Regions from separate parts of the Homo sapiens genome. Here region 1 is linked to region 2. Evidence: promoter capture Hi-C in human tissues and cell types (Jung and others, 2019). All regions are on one chromosome and are shown on one strand. The core of a region is centred on a gene start or on the middle of the fragment in contact, and the rest is flanking DNA. Distances in the headings are between cores, read along the strand shown. Region 1 has its middle 21 kb from the start of ZFAND2A-DT. Region 2 holds the start of COX19 (cytochrome c oxidase assembly factor COX19).

The links. Contacts are between HindIII fragments. The study calls those that stand out against the background at their distance.
Region 1: a fragment that was not itself captured here is called in contact with the fragment with the promoter of COX19 in region 2 in 3 of the 25 tissues and cell types used here (IMR-90 fibroblasts, hippocampus and lymphoblastoid cells).

The regions. Positions count from the first base shown.
Region 1 is chr7:1,179,758-1,183,693 of GRCh38, reverse strand. No RefSeq gene overlaps it. Among named protein-coding and RNA genes, the nearest start is that of ZFAND2A-DT, 21 kb to the right of the region's middle. RefSeq lists an enhancer at 1,700-2,899. The HindIII fragment of the contact is 4,268 bases long and covers 1-3,426 here.
Region 2 is chr7:972,442-976,849 of GRCh38, reverse strand. COX19 (cytochrome c oxidase assembly factor COX19) reads left to right here and starts at 1,301. Exons shown (of 3, transcript NM_001031617.3): 1 at 1,301-1,422; 2 at 3,558-3,669. The coding sequence starts at 1,341. RefSeq lists enhancers at 315-1,195, 1,827-1,896, 1,196-2,078 and silencers at 1,127-1,406, 1,427-1,586. The HindIII fragment of the contact is 7,753 bases long and covers 1-4,163 here.

The DNA.
Region 1 (3,936 bases), core at 43-2,542, 210 kb before region 2:
CCACTGCTGGAACAGGTGTCTTGCCTGCCTCTTGCCACTTGGTGGCAGCGTGTTGACCAAAGGAGAATTGGATCTTTTTCCCCAGTTTCCCAGGAGCAAATCACAATGGAAAACCTTCAGTGGGGAGCAGTGGCTCAAGCCTCTAATCCCAGCACTTTGGGAGGCTGAGGTGGGAGGATCGCTTGAGCCCAGGAGTTTGAGATCACCCTGAGCAACATAGAGAGACCCTGTCTCTACAAAAAAATACAAAAGAAAAACTTTGCCAGGTGTGGTGGTGTGTGTCTGTGGTCCCAGCTATGGGGGAGGCTGAGTCAGGAGGATCAGTTGAGCCCAGGAGGTGGAGGCTGCAGTGAGCTGACAGTGTATCACTGCACTCCAGCCTGGGTGACAGAGTGAGACCCTGTCTCAAAACAGAAAAGAAAAGAAAGTAAAGCTTTGTAAAGGAGGTTCTCATCCCTCCAGGACCGGGTCGGCTGCTAGAACAGGTGTCTTTCCTGCCTCTTACCACTTGGTGGCAGCGTGTTGACCGAAGGAGAATTGGATCTCGTTCCCCAGTTTCCCAGGAGCAAATCATGGCTCCTGGAGAGCAAGTCATCCAGTGCATAGGATTTATCCAGAAGGCTGCGCATCGGCAGTAGCCACGGGTCTGTGTCTGCAAGAGCAGCGCATCCGGGTGCTGAGTGCTGTGGTTCCAGGGCTCCCTGAGTCTGGGGGAGTTCGCAGCAGAGGTGATGTCTACGCTGAGCGGGGTAAGGGACGGTGTGCAGAGCTAAATGGACGCCACCCTCCCTCCAAGCCCGGTCTTACCATTGTGTTCCCCATGCAAGTAGGAAAGGGGTTCATTTCCTGCCCTAAGCAAACTTGCCCAGGCTCAATAGGAGACAGGTCTCAAACTCTGAACCCTCCAAATATTCCGAGCATGGCTTCTGTTTTTAGCCAAATGCATTCACTCATTCAGAAAATACTTATTCATTTATTTAATTTATTTTTTAGAGAGTGTTTGTTTGTTTGTTTGTTTGTTTGTTTTTGAGATAGAGTTTTGCTCTTGTCTCCCAGGCTGAAGTGCAATGGCATGATCTTGGCTCACTGCAACCTCCGCCTCCTGGGTTCAAGCAATTCTCCTGCCTCAGCCTCCCAAGTAGCTGGGATTACAGGCGCCCGCCACCATGCCTGGCTAATTTTTGTATTTTTAGTAGAGATGGGGCGTCACCATGTTGCCCAGGCTGGTCTCGAACTCCTGGCCTCAGGTGATCCACCCGCCTCAGCCTCCCAAAGTGCTGGGATTACAGGCATGAGCCACCACACCTGGCCTTGTGGTTTCAATTTGAGTTTCTCTGATGATTAGTGATGCTGAGCATCATTCATATACCTTTTGGCCATTTGTTTGCCTTCTTTTGAAAAATGTCTCTTCATATCCCTTGCCCACTTTGCCCCTCCCGGTTTCAAGTGATTCTCCTGCCTCAGCCTCCCGAGTAGCTGAGACTGCAGGTACGCACTACCACACCTGGCTAATTTTTGTATTTTTAGTAGAGACGGGGTTTCACCATGTTGCCCAGCCCAGTCTTGAATTCCTGACCTCAGGTGATCCACCTGCCTCGGCTTCCCAAAGTGCTGGGATTACAGGCATGAGCCACCGCACCCGGCCTGTCTTTAATTTCAAATGCTGTGTGTCACCGATGTATAGGAAAGCAACTGACTTTTGTTTCATAACCTTGTACCCTACATTTGCTCATGAGTTCCAAAAATTGTGTTTTTCTTTTCTTTTCCTTTTTGGATTCTGTAGGATTTTCTGCAATCACGTCATTTGTGAACAAAGAAGTTTTATTTCTTCCTTCCCAATCTGTATACTGGTGATTTCCTTTTCCGGTCTTTTTGCTCTAGCGGGGACTCCCAGTTTGAGGCCTGATGGGGTGGTGGGAGGGGACGTTCCTGCCTCTTCCTGATCGTGGCTCCCTTCAGTTCCGCCTGCTGGGCCCTGAGTTGCTCCGGGAACCGCTGAGCACTGGCTCTGTAAGCCTCGGGCCCCCATACCGCTTTCCTTCGGGCCCTGCCCTACCTGCCTGCCTGCCTCCAGGCCCCACAGCCCCGTGGAGCCGCCCAGTTGAGCAGTCCTGCCCCCTCCCTGCCACGCCCCCTCGGGGGTCCTCACTGCTCCCAGATGAAAGCCCCTGTTGTCCCCAGAGGCTCTGTCTCCTTGGGGGACGTTCACCAGCTGCCTCTCAAAGGACCGCCTGAGACCAGACACTTCCGTGGCCTACGGCTTCCTCAAGGACTCTACAAGACACAGAAATCCCTGCTGTCTCCACTGAAAAGAAAGGGTGAGGAGGGTCATTTCGACATCATGTCGGAGCCGTTCCTCACTGCCCCGGCTTCCTGTGTGACCAGGTGTTGGTGAAACGAGATTAATCCACCACTCACACGCATAGGAATCCGTGACCAGGCCCCCCGCCGTGCTGGGCTGAGTGGACGGCACGGGAGACGACCCACGGACCGTTCTCGCTTTGCCTCCAGTGTCGTTCAAAGGGCACCTGCCTGAAGGAGACGTGGGGCTTTGGAGGTGCGGGATTTCTTCTTACCTCTGTTCCCACTACTTACCTTCAGAATAAATCTCTAAGTCCGGTATTAGCAAATTCTTCACAGATGTAGGCCACACAAAGCACCCTCATTGTCTGTCATAAATATAATATCTTTTAAAATCTCCAACGCGACGCACGGGCCTGTTTCTTCTCATAAATCTAGGCTGCCTGTCTCTGATCAAATTCTGCTTTTCCAGCAGTTTTACAGCTAAGTCCTCCCACATAATTTGTAATCGTTTCTTTACAAAGGACATTAAGCTAACCGTGATCCGGTGCTGAATTATGTAGCATTTACCACGCTCCTGTTTTTAGATTCCTTATCCCTTTCTAGTGGATTCTAAAAATATCAGTTAAGCCACCAACTAATTTCTAATCCTTGCTTCTATTAATATTGACCGTTCGTCTCTTAGCCTTTGTCCTTGCTTGATTAAGGAATTCAAATCTTTTCCTGAAAATGTGATTGTTGACAATATGACCGCCTCTGGCTAGAGCACCAGGCAGGAAGGGATTCTGGCTCGCGGGGGTCCGGAGACCAGCTTAGCCACAGAAAGCCCTTCAGGTAACTCGGAGTGTTCTCTCCCCGTCTCACTCTCTCGTTAGGCAAGAAACCAACAGTATCTTAACATATAGATTAAATTTTAAATTCTCCATTATCAGCACCCTGCACGGTGAGACAGGCCTCCAGATTTTGAGGTTGGCTTAAAAGGCCTCCCAACCGTGAGGCGGCCCGGGTGGACCACTTAACCTCGAGCCGCATCTGTCAACGCAGACAGCTTCTCTGATGAGTGAGATTCGGCTGAGATCTGAAGCGGGTAGTGGGTGCTGGAGTCCACCATCCAGAGCCCTGCAAAACGGAGGTGCTTATTCCCCTAGCTGCCTGTCTCTGCAAGGGAACTTCCCTCCGCCAAAGGGGCCTCCGCACCCAGGGTCTCACGGAATCATTACGAGATGCAGGGACGATGCCCAGCCCCTTGGCCTCAATTTGGGACTATGGTGAAGGGACATCCCAGCTCCAGAGCCCCTGGGTGCCCTCAGGATGCCACTGGATTGTGTTCCTTTTTTGAGACAGAGTCTCACTCTGTCGCCCAGGCTGGAGTTCAGTGGCGCGATCTCAACTCACAGCAACCTCTGCCTCCTGGGTTCAAGTGATTCTCCTGCCTCAGCCTCCCAAGTAGCTGGGATTATAGGTGCACACCACCAAGACCAGCTAATTTTTTTTTTGTATTTTTAGTACAGACGGGGTTTTGCCATGTTGGCTAGGCTGATCTCGAACTGCTGACCTCAGGTGATCTGTCCACCTTGGCCTCCCAAAGTGCTGGGATTACAGGTGTGAGCTACCATGCCCGGCCCACTGGATTGC
Region 2 (4,408 bases), core at 52-2,551:
TCTCTTGAACTCGGGAAGTGGAGGTTGCGGTGAGCCGAGATCGTACCACTGCACGCCCGTCTAGGTTACAAAGTGAGACTCTGTGTTGAAAAAAAATATATTAGCTTAGCTGGGTGTGTTGGTGGCGCCTGTAATCCCAGCTACTCGGGAGGCTGAGGCAGGAGAATTGCTTTAACCTGGGAGGTGGAGGTTGCAATGAGCCAGGATCGAGCCACTGTACTCCAGCCTGGGCAACAAGAGAGAGACTCCGTTTTAAAAAACAAAACAAAGAAATAGGGTTGCTGCTGATATAATTAGTTAAGATGAAGTTATTGGGACGGCCCCTAACCCAACATGACTGCTATCCTTATAAAAAGAGGAAATTTAGGTTGGGCATGGTGGCTCATGCCTATAATCCCGGCATTTAGGGAGGCTGAGGCAGGAGGATTGCCTGAGCCCAGGAGTTAAGGACCAGCCTGGGCAACATAGGGAGACTCCATCTCTACGAAAAATAGAAAAATTAGCCTGGTGTGGTGGTGTGTGCCTGTGGTCGCAGCTACTCAGGAGGCTGGGGTGAGAGGATCGCTGAGCCCAGGAGGTCGAGGCTGCAGTGAGTCGTGATCATGCCACTGCACTCTAGTCTGGGCAACAGAGCAATACCCTGTCTCAAATAAATAAATAAAAATAGTAAATTTGGACATGCGCAGGACACCATGGGAACGTAGGGGCCGAGACCAGGTGGTGCTTCTGCAAGCCAAGGAACCTCACAGGCTGGCGGCCCCCAGAAGCTGGGAGGCTGGGACTGTCCCCAGGGCCCCCACTCTGCCCACTGCTTGGACTCCAGACCCCAGGACTGAGAGCACATTCCTGTTGTTGAAGCTGCTCGGTGGTGTCACCTGGCTCCAGCAGCCGCAGGCAGCGAGTCCACAGGCTCTCCTGTCCCTCCTGTGCCGCCTTCCTCCCCGGATGGGCCCCGTGATGAGGTCTCTGTGCGATGGGGAAACCGAGGCCCCAGCAGACACCTGGGATGCAGAGACGCCGGCACCGCTATGTGTCCTCGGGCAATTCGCTGAACCTTTCTGGGCCTCGGTTTCTCACCAATTCCAAAAGCTGATTCTGCTACCGACTGCTGTGAGGGTCCCAGGGGACGGGAAAGCCCGGGCAGCGCCCACCGGGGCTCAGGAGCTTGCTGACTCCGAGGGGGTGGGGCCGGGCCTGGGCAAGGGGTGGGGCCGGGCCTGGGCAAGGGGCGGGGACGGGGCCTGCTCGACGTGCTCGGCGCTCCCGGGGTGCCTGCTCGGCGCTCCGCCGGCCGCCCTGCGTACGCTCGCAAGGCGCTCGCAGACTCCGGAGTCGCCAACATGTCGACCGCCATGAATTTCGGGACCAAGAGCTTCCAGCCGCGGCCCCCGGACAAGGGCAGCTTCCCGCTGGATCACTTAGGTGAGCGGCGGAAGGTCGGCGGGCAGGGGTCTGCGATGGGGGGTCTGGGTCGCGGCCCAGCGCGGAGCCCTATGGGGTGCCGGCATCTAGCGCGGTGCAGGCGGGGAAACTGAGGCACGGCGGCCCGCCCCTCCGCCCCACCCAGCCCTGGGTCACTGCTGCGGCATGGACCCTGCAGGTGGGAGCTGGCAGGACCGTGGCCCCCGTGACGAGGGCAGCGACACCGACTCCTTGCGTCAGGCTTCCGGGTCTCCGGCTCCGCCCTGACTCACCCGGCGGGCTGTCTGTGCCCCGGGTTTGCAGAGCGGGGCATTCGGCGGCCACGAAGCCCGCAGCTGCAGCCGAGGCTTAGACGGTGCCTAGCGATGTCTGCTGCAAAGCTCAAAAGTGCTGCTGATCTCCCAGTGCTTCTGGCCGTATTCCGGTGGGGTTGCCTCCGTGGACATGAAGGCTTCGAAAAAGGATCTGTGGGCCGGGCGCGGTGGCTCATGCCTGTGATCCCAGCCCTTTGGGAGGCCGAGGTGGGCGGATCATTTAAGATCAGGAGTTCGAGACCAGCCTGCCCAACATGGGGAAACCCCGTCTCTACTAAAAATACAAAAATTAGTTGGGTGTGATGTGGCTCGCCTGTAGTCCCAGCTACTCGGGAGGCTGAGGCAGGAGAATCGCTTGAACCGGGAGACGGAGGTTGCAGTGAGCCGAGATCGGGCCACTGCACTGCAGCTTGGGCGACAGAGTGAGACAACGTCTCAAAAAAAAAAAGAAAGAAAAGAAAAGAAAAACGATCTGTGAATTACTGTTTCTTTCCCAACATTTTATTGTGACATTTTCAAATAGCAAAAATGAAAGAATTTTTACCCTGAACTCTCCTGTGACCATCACCTACATTGCACCTTAACCTCGTACTGGGCTGACTTTACCTCGTTGTGGGTTTTTTCCATTGTTGTTTTCAGCATGTTTATGAAGGAAACAAGTTTGGGTTTGATTGTTTTTGTTTTGAGACACGGTCTCACTCTGTTGCTTAGGCTGGAGTGCAGTGGTGCAATCATAGCTCACTGAAGCCTCGGCCTCCTTCCTTTCTGGACTCAGGGGAGTCTCCCGTCTCATCCTCTAGAGTAGCTGGGACTATAGGTGTGCAGCGCCACACCCAGCTAATTTTTTTTTTTTTTTTTTTTTTAGAGATGGGGTTTCCCCATGTTGCCCAGGCTGGATTATTTATTTATTTATTTTTGAAATGGACTCTCACTGTGTCGCCCAGGCTGGAGTGCAGTGGTGTGATCTCGACTCACTGCAACCTCCTCCTCCCGGGTTCAAGCGATTCTCCTGTCTCAGCCTCTAGAGTAGCTGGGACTATAGGTGTGCAACACCACACCCAGCTAATTATTATTGTTTTTTTATTTTTTATTTTAAAGATGGAGTTTCCCCATGTTGACCAGGCTGGATCATTTATTTATTTATTTTTGAAATGGAGTCTCACTCTGTCACCCAGGCTGGAGTGCAGTGGTGTGATCTCGACTCGCTGCAACCTCCGCTTCCTGGGTTCAAGCAATTCTCCTGCCTCAGCCTCCCGAGTAGCTGGGACTACAGACACCCGCCACCATGCCCGGCTAATTTTTGTATTTTTAATAGAGATGGGGTTTCACCAAGTTGGCCGAGCTGGTCTTGAACTCCTGACCTCAGGTGATCCGCCCACCTCTGCCTCCCAAAGTGCTAGGATTACAGGCGTGAGCCACCGTGCCCAGCCTGGATTATTTTTAGGAGACAAGGTCTTGATCTGTTGCCCAGGCTGGAGTGCAGTGGTGTGATCAAGCTCACTGCAGCCTCGAAATCCTTTGCTCAAGCGATCTTCCTGCCTCAGCCTCCTGAGTAGCTGGAACCACAGACGTGCGCCACACCTAGCTAACTTTTAAGGTTTTTTTTGGTAGAGATGGGGGTCTCACTGTGTTGCCCAGGCTGGTCTCAAACTCCTGGGGTCAGGTGATCCTCTCAGAGTGCTGGGATTACAGGTGTGAACCACTGCGCCCGGCCTGAGGAAACAAGTTTTGAAAGGAAAAGCAGCGCAGCTCTTAAGGCTGTTGTGTGGTTGCATCACTTTTCACTCTGAAAAGAACATGCTGTTTTCTTTCTCGTTCTAGGTGAATGTAAAAGCTTTAAAGAGAAATTCATGAAGTGTCTTCATAACAATAATTTTGAAAATGCTTTGTGCAGAAAGGAATCAAAAGAATATTTAGAATGCAGGATGGAGAGGTGAGTACAGCTAAGCGTTATGATTTCCACCTCCCACTACTCCAATTAAAACTTTTTTTTTCCTGAAAGGCCATTACAGTGTGTCTTTTTCAGGCCTGGGATTCAGCTTGTGTTTTTCAGGACTGTGGAATTGTTTGCCCTTGAAATGGAGGCTTATCAGATGAAATTGTACCAAAAGCTGTTTCACAATCTTGGGAACCTCTTCTTGAGCGATAGCGTTATACATGATTGCATTCCTGAGAGCATTTTCTTTCCACATTTGGTTGCTACCGACCTGTCATTAAGGTTTCCAAATCGTGCATCATAATGCTGACTGAGTCAAAAGACCGAAGGTCGTGGGTACACAGTTTCTTTCTTTTGCATTCTCAGATGTTAAAAATATGCACTGGGTTGTTTTGCTCCACTTTGAGTTGTTGGGAATGTGACAGGGAGGACAATAGACTATTTAAGAAATGATGAAAGATGAATGATTCTTCCTGTCGTAACCAGAACTCACCAACGCTCACTTTTAAACAAAACAAACGCGTTCGTAGCTATGATCCCCACAGCTTTTACTTAAAATAAGAGCTATTCTAATCCCTTATGCAAAAAAAAGCATGTAGCATATAATTATATGATGGTAGTGGGAGCTTTTATTTTTGCTTTTCGAGGCCATGATTAGCTCACTAAGCATTTCGGTCTTCAGACAGCTGTGTCTGTGCTGAAGACAGGTTGACAATTCGCCCATCCACTTTGAGCT